Regions from separate parts of the Homo sapiens genome. Here region 1 is linked to region 2. The links are contacts of gene promoters, found by promoter capture Hi-C in blood cells and fetal thymus (Javierre and others, 2016). All regions are on one chromosome and are shown on one strand. The core of a region is centred on a gene start or on the middle of the fragment in contact, and the rest is flanking DNA. Distances in the headings are between cores, read along the strand shown.

Region 1 (5,966 bases), core at 1,320-3,819, 470 kb before region 2:
ATTACTGCTGTTATTGAACAAAGAGTTAAATAGTATTTTAATATCTATTGTTTGTAGTTTAATAGCTTATTTTTAAAGAGAAGTTTTATTTGACCTCTGATGGTAATTATCATGACCACAGAACTAGATAAGCCAAAGAGGCCTCAATCATGCCCTCTCTCCAGGGTGGTCTAGTCTTAAACAGCATTTTTTAAAGCATTGTTTTTTTAAAGTATCATAACACTTCCCTAGGAAAAGAGAGTATCACTCTATTGGGTTATATGCTGCAATTCTTTTGGACCTCATTTGTTACCTATCAAATCTAATTCAAAATCTTCATGTTGCAGTTTAAGAAACCACTAAAACACTTTAGGCAAAATAAATACTTTATTGTTTTAATATATATATATTTTAGAAATCAGCCTTTGTGTGATATTTCAAACATTTATAAGCCTTTTAGAGATTCTTTCAAAGAACACTGTTAACAACTCAACCACTTTTGATTAAAATATCACACACAAAGAAACACAATAGGAGTTGAAAAAATTATAAATGCTAGAAGAAAAATTCTAATAACATTTGGTGGTTACTTTACACATTTATTTAACACATATAAAACCAAATGGGAAACCATTTTCCTTTTTTTTCATAAAAACAAAGTTTTCACTGGTTAAAACTGAACTAAAATCATTTTATGTATGAGGAGAACAAATCTAAATTACTTCCATTTTGAAAAAACAAACACCAGCTTATTCATTTCTATTCATTCAAGTCATAGGCCCCATTATTTGGATGATACTCTATTTAGTCTAGAAGACAGAAAAAGAAACATCTCCATCTAATAAAGAAGTCTGGACAATGCAAAAAGTAAAAGTACATAGTGTTTAACATAAGGCACATTTCCAAAAGAAAAATACTACATAAGCAATGATAAAATTACATTTGTCTTGGGTAAAGCAACAAGGCTTACAGTGTAAGTACATTAAGTAGTTGTAGGTAACCTCATAAAATTCTATCCTACTGCTATTAGTAACCTCCCCAAGAATTAAGAGCAATTATATTTTTTACAACAGAACAGTTTTTCTTCTTGGAAGTGACATTAATTAACAGCAGTGGAGGGAAAAATCATTGGATGCTTCAAGCTCTGAAAAAAATGAATCAGTTATTGCACAGTAAATACCTCATAGAGGTCAGTGTTTTAAGATGTTAGTCTGAAGAAATATGTTATTTATAAGTTGGATAAGTCTGGAAGTCTTCAAGTTTTAAAATTAATTCTAATAGGGAATCAAATGAAAAATACTGACATACAAATAAATATTAGGCTTTTCAAACTGCTAGAGTTTTTGATAGTTTAGAAAAGAAATAGCAAAGTGCCTAAGTTTCTATGTACGTCTTTTTAAAATATATGGTTGAAGAAATACACATTGTACACTGTATACAGTAGCCCAGCTCAACAGCAAGTATCTTCTAAAGCACAAATAACACCTCCACCAGTGCATATCATTGATAATTCCAGTATTACACAGCTAATAGGATCCATGCCAACCTTAAAAAAGAAAAGAGAAGTCAGTTTTAAACCTCTTTCAAATACTGTTATTAAAAGCTTCTTTAAAGGAAGATGAGAATTTTATGCAAATATATATACACAGAAACATGATTATCCTGTAATCTCTATACATCTTCCTGAGAGTTAATTCTTATATCCCTGGCTTTAAAAAAAATAATTCCTATTAATTGCTTTGTGACATAATTTATTAAAATACTTTCCAATTTCCTATATCTGAAATTGTATATTATACTTTTCAAATTACATTTGTTTCTCATGTCTTATTCAATGAATATTTTTAGTTCTATTCTACTCAACTTATTCTTTCTTTTTGCATTCACCAAGAATTATTATTAATATATATTATATAAAATGAAGTTAGAGCTAAAGCAGGAGGATCGCTTGAGGCTAGGAGTTTAAGACTAGCGTGGGCAACATAGCAAGACCCCATCTCTACAAAAAAATTTTTTAATGTAATTAGAGCTACGAGATAAAATGAAAGTAATTCGTTTTACTAAGACAGACATATAAAAGAGTTTTTTGAAATAAATTATTATTAGAAATGAATCTATGGGATATGTTTCTTTAAAAGATAAAAATAATTAGGAAAGATACTTAGAAGTTGTGATTAATTCGGCCGGGCGCGGTGGCTCACGCCTGTAATCCCAGCACTTTGGGAGGCCGAGGCGGGCGGATCACGAGGTCAGGAGATCGAGACCATCCCGGCTAAAACGGTGAAACCCCGTCTCTACTAAAAAATACAAAAAATTAGCCGGGCGTAGTGGCTGGCGCCTGTAGTCCCAGCTACTTGGGAGGCTGAGGCAGGAGAATGGCGTGAACCCGGGAGGCGGAGCTTGCAGTGAGCCGAGATCCCGCCACTGCACTCCAGCCTGGGCGACAGAGCGAGACTCTGTCTCAAAAAAAAAAAAAAGGAAGTTGTGATTAATTCACAAAATCTTGTTCTTTAAAACTATACATCTGAAATACCATTATAATCAAAATAAGATTCAGGTTTGAAGGTCCAATTCCAGGATTTATTACTATAATGAAATTTCAGTAGAATGACCCAATATAAGTAATTCCTTGGAGATTTGTATTATGGGATTTGACTTACACTTCAAATAGGCTTGTGTGAAATTTTCACATTGTAAAATAACATATTACATACATTCTAAAACTCAAAATTTAACTAGAGAACCAAACCTGTATACTAACAAAACAAAGAATAAAATGCCAGTTACTATTTACATTTAGCTCAACAAAGAAACTCAGAAAAATTTACCTATAATTTCTGTTTAATGATAATCTTGCTTAGAATTAGACGCTTTACTTGAAGATACTGCTGCCAAAAGTCCACTTACAATTTCCCGTCTGATTTCCCCAACAATAGACTCTTTAATCTAGATTGGAAAAACAATAAAACAAAAATTTACCAATATGAATGGAATTCATTTTTTCCTGTTTTTGGAAAAAATACAAATAGCATTCAATTTCTTAATTTCACCTTCATGTGAATCTCCCTGCAATACAGAGAGGGAGTGGGGAATCGAGTCCATCTATCATCCAACCCAGATCAGACTCCCAAGGACTGGTCTAGAATTGTTCAGCTAACTAGATTACAAATATCACAATTCATAAGGTGAGGACATTAGAAAATGTTATTTCATAAGTTAAAAAACTTCTAGTAAATACTTTACCTCATGTCAAAAAAATAATCTGGAAGGACTTCTTAAATGTTTTTAGTATTGTCTAACTTTGTAAGGTAATCAGCAGAGACACAAGTGCTCTCATTGCTGAGAAAATCTTTTAGAGGCAAAATAGTATACAGGTATACTGCCTGTTTATGCCAACTGACAGCAAGGTATCTAAAGACATATTGTTCAACCTAACACATTTAAAATGGGAAGAAGAAATTATCATTTAGTACAATTTATTTTATAATATAAAAAACATCCTCAAAACAACCATAAACTCTAAAGAAATAACTTTTTCTTTAGTTGCATGGTATCACTGCCAGCCATCTAAGCTTTTGTTTCCAATATGCATATAGGATATGAGGATATACATCTCATTTTATTGTTGGAAAAGGCAAACAGACCTGAGGAAATGACAATTCCATCAGGATTTTCTTCTACAGGTGTCCAAACACTTACATATGCCTATCTCCACCTTTTCTCTCTAATGATACAGCATCACTTTTAAATAGCCCTTTGTGAAAGCTATAAATGTGTATTTCCTGAAATAAAGTGATAATGTGTTCCCAAATAAGCACTCAAGATACTCTCAACAAGCTTTTAAAAATTCTACATTTCCAGTTTCCTGTCAGCCAAATTGATTTATTTCCTACAATGTTCCTAAGTACATCTCAAACACATCTTAACTATAATCTTTCCAAAAATGGTCCTGTATTAGTCTATCATGCAAAATTGGTACACAATACATAGATTTATACATAGTTATTTAAAGAAACAAAACACTCCTTAGCTACCAACCATCTGTACTGGAATATATTTAAATACTATAAGCTTTTCACTTTACCTTTTATCAATATTTCTAAACTTTAAACAACATCAGAAGATTCTGAAGCACACAGCACTTCAGATTTACTTTTCAAACAAGTATGTGTTGGATACAAATATTTTAAAAACCAGAATCTCTTAGTCACAGTATATAAACAGAAATACAACATACTGAATTAGGACCACTGCAAATCTATATTCACAACAATGAGTATAGTCTTTCCAGTCCTGCTACCAATGCAATATGGCCATTTTATTATATCTCATTATTCTTCATCACTCAAAAAACAAACTAGCCAAAATGTATTCTCTTTTTTTTTTTTTTTTTTGAGATGGATTCTCACTCTGTCACCCAGGTTGGAGTGCAGCGGTACAATATCGGCTCACTGCAAGCTCCGCCTCCTGGGTTCACGCCATTCTCCTGCTTCAGCCTCCTGAGTAGCTGGGACTACAGGCACCCGCCACCACGCCCGGCTAATTTTTTGTATTTTTAGTAGAGACGGGGTTTCACCATGTTAGCCAAGATGGTCTCGATCTCCTGACCTTGTGATCCACCCGCCTTGGCCTCCCAAAGTGCTGGGATTACAGGCGTGAGCCACCGCGCCCAGTCGCCAAAATGTATTCTTGACAAACCAGGAATGTGTGCCAATCTTTTTTGGGAGTACAGGCATTATTGGAATAAAGTATAAAAGAATCCCTACCATCAAGCATGATATAATCTCAATGGACACAAAATGAATACTGTTTCATAAAATATATTTCTTATTTATTTATTTTTGTGACAGAGTCTTGCTGTGTCATCCAGAGTGGAGTGTAGGGGCGCAATCTCGGCTCACTGCAACCTCTGCCTCCCACGTTCAAGTAATTCTCCTGCCTCAGCCTCCTGCATAGCTGGGATTACCACCACACCTGGCTAATTTTTGTATTTTTAGTAGAGATGGGGTTTCACCATGTTGGCCAGGCTGGTCTCGAACTCCTGACCTCAGGTGATCCGCCCACCTCGGCCTCCCAAAGTGCTGTGATTACAGGCGTGAGCCACCACACCTCGTCGGTTTCATAAAATACTAAAGGAAAAATAATTTATTGATTCATTAATGACATAAGAACAAAAAATTTTGATAAATGAGAGACTAGTGTGGGACAAAATTCTCAGAGAATGGCAGCTTTTACATGGTATGTCACAACAAAGAAAGAACAATTTCAGATGACAGTGGAGATAGAAAACTCTGTAGCAAGACGGTCTCAAATAAGAGGGGAGTATAATGGAGCCTGACTGCCAAGACAGTTCCCTCTAGAGAGCAGAAGGGAATCAGAATAGGAAGGGTGAGGTCAGATGGAAGGTGTACTGTGAGCTCCTTCAGCGAGCAGGTCAGGTCTCATTTATCAGTGTATCTCAGCATACAGTAAGAACTCAGTAAGCGTCTGAATGAATGAATCAATGAGAGAGTGAGAAAGCACAAGGGTGAGAGACAATATCAGACACAAAAAGGAAGAGAAAGCAGAAAAACGAAAGCAGACTACAGATAAAATGGCCCTGAAAATGATACAATGTCTTTATTAATTTATTGAATGAATAAATGCATGGACAAATAATTTAGTTCTAAAGTCTCCCATGCTATGGAGAGGTTGGAAGGATTAGAAGTGAGGAAACTACCCTGGGATGGATGGTAAAATTACCTTTATGAGCATAATTTCCAAAAAAATGTAGGCTAAATACAGACTACCTGAGATTGAGAAAGTCATGCTGATCGACAATACAAAAAGACTGACTACAAGTCTGAAGTATGTGGGAACACATCCACTTATTATGCACTTACTGAGTGCCTACTAAGTGGCAGCTATTACAAGTGATCACTAAAAGAAATTTCCATAAGAACACATGAGCAAGCTGTGTATTTACCAAAATACATGGGTAAAACATG
Region 2 (5,472 bases), core at 2,019-4,518:
GTCACCCACATTTGAAACAGGACAACTGAAGCTATTTTATACAGAAGATTCACACACACACACACACACACACACACACACACACACTCTTCTACAGAAGATGGCTTATATATATTTACACACACTCTTGAAACTTCTTCATACAAAATAGTGCATAGCCCACAAACCTAAGAATCCTAAATTATCTTTATTACCAATGTATTGTTTTTAGTGTTTTATTTCTAGACTGTAGCCTCAATCCCTATTTTATAGCTTCAAGCTACCACTGAATTTATTCTGAATAGAGAGGCAGTTTCTTTACATGAGGAATAAAAGATATCTGTATTCTTTAGAATGTTACATGAGAAATAACTTCAGTCAACTCTTCGGCAAATACTCAAGGCATTACTATCACTATTAATGTTTTAACTCATTGACTGACTAGGAATCTTGCCTTTTTTCCTTTCATCCCAGTAAATACCTTGTAGATTGGCCAAAATTTTGAAAGTTAAAAATCAGTTTGGCTCATCATTTCTAATCAATTATCTTACTCATCAGTCAGGTTGATAAATTTTCACTCCACTTTTATTCATTCATCCATCCAAAAGATCTTCATTTAATTCATATCTATGACATATCTACTATGTTTACATTTCTCTGAGAACAGTCAACTCCCATGCTACACATGCCCAAACAATTTTTTCCTTCCATTGACAGGCATTATCTTAAATTTAATACAGTATTATGTCATGATTTATCCAGTTAAACACAGACATCCAGAAATAGATTCAGTGTCCATCCAGACAGGAAGTAGGCACTAAATATCAGTAGTTATAATGTCATGGATCAGGAAACTATGACAGGACAACAGAAATAAAATTGCTCCCTCCTGAGACCTTGCCAAGATCCTCTGGCAGACCAAAGTTGTCGGCTCCACTCCCTAATTCTTCACCCACAACTCTCTCATGCAATGAAAATTATGCTTTGCAAAATCATTCCAAAATGTATGGGTCTGTGAATGTTTTATGCATTCCTACTGTGATTTCTGGTATTGAGGATGCTTAACAAGAGGCTAGGGCTTATTCTACATGCTACAGACAACTCGTAGACTTTTATAGGTGCTCTGAGTTAAAAGTAAAAATTCCATTATGTTTATACTCTATCTGAATTCATCTGAATGAAGGGAACCAGCTTCACAGTTTGAAAAAGAGCAAAGACTACTATAAAATACAAAAGAAGTTAAAGATCCAATAACTAATCTCAAAAGTCCATTTATAGCAAAGAAATATAAAGAAGTACCAATTTTATTCACCGTTTACAGATGACCCATCAGCTCAGCAGACAACATATTAAACCATTCACTTAATTTTATTTGCATTGAAGATACATACATGGAAGAAAATGGCTTAGACTTTGGACGCATTCAGACCCTAGTTTGACTTTAGTTCCCACCTATCAGTCACTAGCTAAGTAACTTTTAAAAAGGTATTTGCAACTCTGAGCCACAGTCCTCATACATAAACTAGGAACAATGTCAACCATGACCCAGGGTTGCTTTAAGGGGAAAAAAGTTAAGCAATATATATAGCAGTAACACTTTGGAACAAGATAGGTCTTGTTATTTAATATTCCTTCCTCTTTCCCCACTTGCCTGTGTGCAACAAACTTGTCTTTGGCTTTGAAACATGAAACTTCTCCCCTCTATCAGTACACATTTTTCAACTTGTCACAAATCTGAGACATTGAGAAATGACTGCAAAAAGATGGACCCATATAACATGAGTTTTGGATGACGGTTTTGGGAATGGAAAATTATACTACATTAACGATGAAGATGCCAATTTTCCTTTTCTTTTAGATTGTATATTGTAAGTAAAACTATCACTTTTTTTTTTAGGCCTTTAGGTTAAACGACGGGATATGGGATCAATTCCAATTGCTATTCCTGATATGCTCCTTAGCCTGTTCTTTAAGAGGGTTGATAGGTCAAAGATGGAAATAAAATTCTCAAGTCTTGGCTTAGCTGGATCCTGTCCTTAATACGCTGAGAGAGTCTAAAATGTGCTTTACACACGGAGAGACGGGGAGAGATGAAGAGAAGGTATCATAAGAAATTTCTCTAGCATAGTTGTCAGAGTACTGCAATCATTGCCATAAGGAAAAGGGAGAACGATATTAACAGAAAGGGAATCCCTTTTATATTAAGGAGGCAAGATGAGATGGAGTTGAAACTGAAAACTTTATGCTCTTTAAACCAGAAGTAACAGGCAACGTGAATCTTTCCAGGACTTGCCCTATGGTGGGGTCCACATGGGGGGTCGGGAGGTCACTAACTCCTGGTCCCATACCCAACTCACCCAGCTGGAGCTGTTCGCACGTCTGGCCGGGATTCTTTCCGATCCTGCATCTGTAAATCGCCCCGGGATTGATCACTGAAGCGTTGGCGAGCCAGTTGGCAGTGGGCGCACCCACTAGGAGCCTAAAGCGAGACACGTGCACGTGCGCTCAGACGTGAGCTGTGCTGCCCACTGAGCTCCCTGTCGCCACAGATGTGCAGTCCGCAGCAGGGCAGCTTCCCCACCTCCTCCTCCGCCCACCACCCCCGACTCGAAGCTCCAAGACCTTGCACCATAACGCACCCGGGGCGCTGCCGCCCCAAGATAAGTTAGTTTCCCTGGCAGATTTCCAGCGAGCTGGCTCTCGCAGCGTTTCCCTCCTGCCTCCTTGGGAGGGAGGAAAGTTTGAATCGGGCAGGGAATCCCTAGGGCGCCATTCTCACGCCGCTCTGAGCTGCTGAGGGCGCATCAGTCCAACTCTACTCACCATCGGTTCGCCCCGTGGCTGTGCAGCACGACCGAGTAGCCGAACAGCGTGTTGTGGGGGCCCTGGTAAAGCAGCGCGCTCTCAGTGTCCACGTTGTAGGGGCGGCCGGTCGGGACCCCCAGGCACAGCAACAGCATCACCGTCTCCCGGACGGCGGCCCTTCGGGGGCCGGGTTCGCGCCTCGCTTCCCAAGCCATGCGCTCTCGGTGGGGAACATTCAACACTAAACGGCCACTACCCCAAAGTTGCACGGGATGCGACGGTTGGCCAACGGGGAAGAACGCCCCAAGAGATGAGGCGCAGCGTGTCCGGCGCCAGCGGGCTAAAGGAAGGAGAGAGGGAAGAGGAGGGGAAGTCGGCCCACCGCGGGCGGAGCGTTCGGGCCGGCCTGGGATGCCGCGCACTCGCCCGGCCCCACTCCCGGTTTCTGCCGCCAGCCGGGAGCTTCGGGTGCTCGCGCTGCTTCTCCGGGTACGGGCCGCTGGGTGGGGTCCCGGGCGTGGTGCGGAGGCGCAGGGCCGGGCTCCGTCTCTGCCTACGCGCGGCTGCAGGGGGCGCTGGGGAACCTCGGCTGCGCAGGACTCGCGTCCTGGCCCGGGCCTCCCAGCCCGCAGAGCGCGGGATGGCTCTGGGCTCAGCAAGAGCGGACCTGATGGGGCACGGGCTTCCCCTTTTAACGGTGGTTGGGGCCTAGAAGCGGAGCTGTGTGACCCCAAACTGCGCGCCCCTCGCTGTGACCGCCCAGCCCGGCGTGGCCCAAATGCCAGCCACAAACTCGGGGAGTGGGACTGCGGCGGGGAGCCGTCCAGTTCTTTCGTTGATAGTTAAACACTGTGTCTTGTTTTTCAGGTGTAGGCAACCACTAGATAAATTATCAAGAGCCACAGATTAAAAACAAAAAACCAAACAAAAAGACTCGCCGAAGGCCCCTGGGGAACATTTTAGTGACAAAGACGTTATGGCTATTCTCTTCAAGACCCACATCTCAGCACCCTTCTATACCCACTTCCTTCCTCCCCACACTTCCTCTGCAGCCCGGGCTGCATGCGTGAGCAGGCTAGCAGCAGCCTCTCAGGCTGAACGGCAGGCGGTTTAGGCTGTGGCTGACCCCAACAGAGAGGTTGGGTTAAGGAAGCACTGTGACTTGATTCACTTTAACCGATTCGGATTGCTCCAGCTGGTAATTGATGATCCCCCCTTTTCACGCACCCACTCAGTTGCCACGGGACACACCTGCTTTTAGGGGTGTAAACCCCAGTGTGGGGTCAGGGTCCTAATGAGCCTCTGAAATGTGCCGGAGACCCACAACGCAACACACCTGAACTGGGTAGTGAGTCTCATTCTAATGCAATCCAGGTGTGCCCTGCCTTTTTTTTTTTTTTCCTTCAGCAACCAGAGAGACAGCCATAGGTGATTATTAGACTGATATTTTCAGGAGATGAAAGTCTAGTTTTTTATTGTTGCTATATGTAAAAAGAAAAGAAAAGTCTGCATCAAAGAGTGTGTCTGTGTGCTAAAACCATGCTGGAATAAATAACACATCTGACACTAATGACAGATACACAATTAAAATGCTTATTCATTTATTCAGCACATTCATGGAGCAGGCACTTGACTAGGACCACAGGATTCCACCAAGAGTAAGGCAGGACTGATACAAAGTTTCAAAAAATGTTCGCTCCAATGGTAGATAGAAAAATTTGTACTAACTAGAGAAAGATCCAGGTAAGGACACTTAAAGAGAGATTTGAAGGACCAGGAATCTTGAATCAGGCTAAGAATGGGATGAGCAATAAGGAGGGCTCCAGAGGAGCCAGGTAGAAGAACTGAGAGAGCTTGCCTGGCTAGAGTATTTAGCCACTCCACACACAGGTTGGTGTGATATGAGGCTGACTTAGGGAAGCAGGAATACATGGTGAACCTCATGAGCCAGGTTAGGAATTTTAAATCTATGTTGGGACTGACAGGAAGTTGAAGAATTTGTCTCGGTCAGCTCTGGGTTTCAGAAGTGTGAATGCAAGACTGAACACAGAAAACCTAATTTTGGAAGCCCCTGCAGCAATAAGTAGAGATAGGATAATCCCAAGGGGAAGTATTTCTCTTTCTTGAAAGAGAATGGTGCTACCATTCATGGAGAAAAAAACACTGAGAAATGAAGTTATATGCATGTATGTGTGCATGCAGATGGGGGCATGGATGGGTTAAGTTTTAGCCATGTGGAGTTTGAGATGTTTATGGAATGACAGGATATTCTAGCCAAACTCAATGCAATTATTTTCAGTCTGTCAACAGACAAAACATGAGGAATATTAACTTTCTCTTACTCTATACTGGAAAAAGTCAATACAGTGTGTGATAAATCTATTGTAAAAATGAAATGGCTTCCAGAAAGCTAACAATCAGGGCCCATGGCTGTTTCTTTCTGTAGTAGTGCTGAGTGTGTTTCTTTCTTAGTAGATCTACATGCTGATTTTAACCCAGTTCCACAATGAGCTTACAGTGTCGTTATTCTGAACTATGCAATCCTTCTTGTTTACAGCTACAAAACCTCCAGTTGAGGCCAAGGAAGTAGGTATGTTGAAGCCATTCTGACACCCTCCAGAAACTGGCAAAGCCAGATCTTCTGATCTGAACCCCTACCAGTTTCTTTCCCTCCCTTCACCAAAATCT

The links. The method cuts DNA at HindIII sites, captures the fragments that hold promoters and counts their contacts. A CHiCAGO score of 5 or more calls a contact.
Region 1: a contact is called between a fragment that was not itself captured here and the fragment with the promoter of ITGA4 in region 2, in 2 of 17 cell types (fetal thymus and neutrophils). The highest score is 6.7, in fetal thymus.

What each region holds. Positions count from the first base shown.
Region 1 is chr2:181,925,120-181,931,085 of GRCh38, reverse strand. It overlaps ITPRID2 (ITPR interacting domain containing 2), which reads right to left. Exons shown (of 18, transcript NM_001130445.3): 17 at 2,808-2,925; 18 at 348-1,525. The coding sequence ends at 2,821. Among named protein-coding and RNA genes, the nearest start is that of ITPRID2, 36 kb to the right of the region's middle. The HindIII fragment of the contact is 1,969 bases long and covers 1,585-3,553 here.
Region 2 is chr2:181,455,182-181,460,653 of GRCh38, reverse strand. It overlaps ITGA4 (integrin subunit alpha 4), which reads right to left and starts at 3,268. Exons shown (of 28, transcript NM_000885.6): 1 at 2,803-3,268; 2 at 2,337-2,458. The coding sequence starts at 2,999. RefSeq lists enhancers at 2,222-2,271, 2,632-2,681, 2,742-2,931, 3,652-3,761 and a silencer at 3,082-3,471. The HindIII fragment of the contact is 9,740 bases long and covers 1-5,472 here.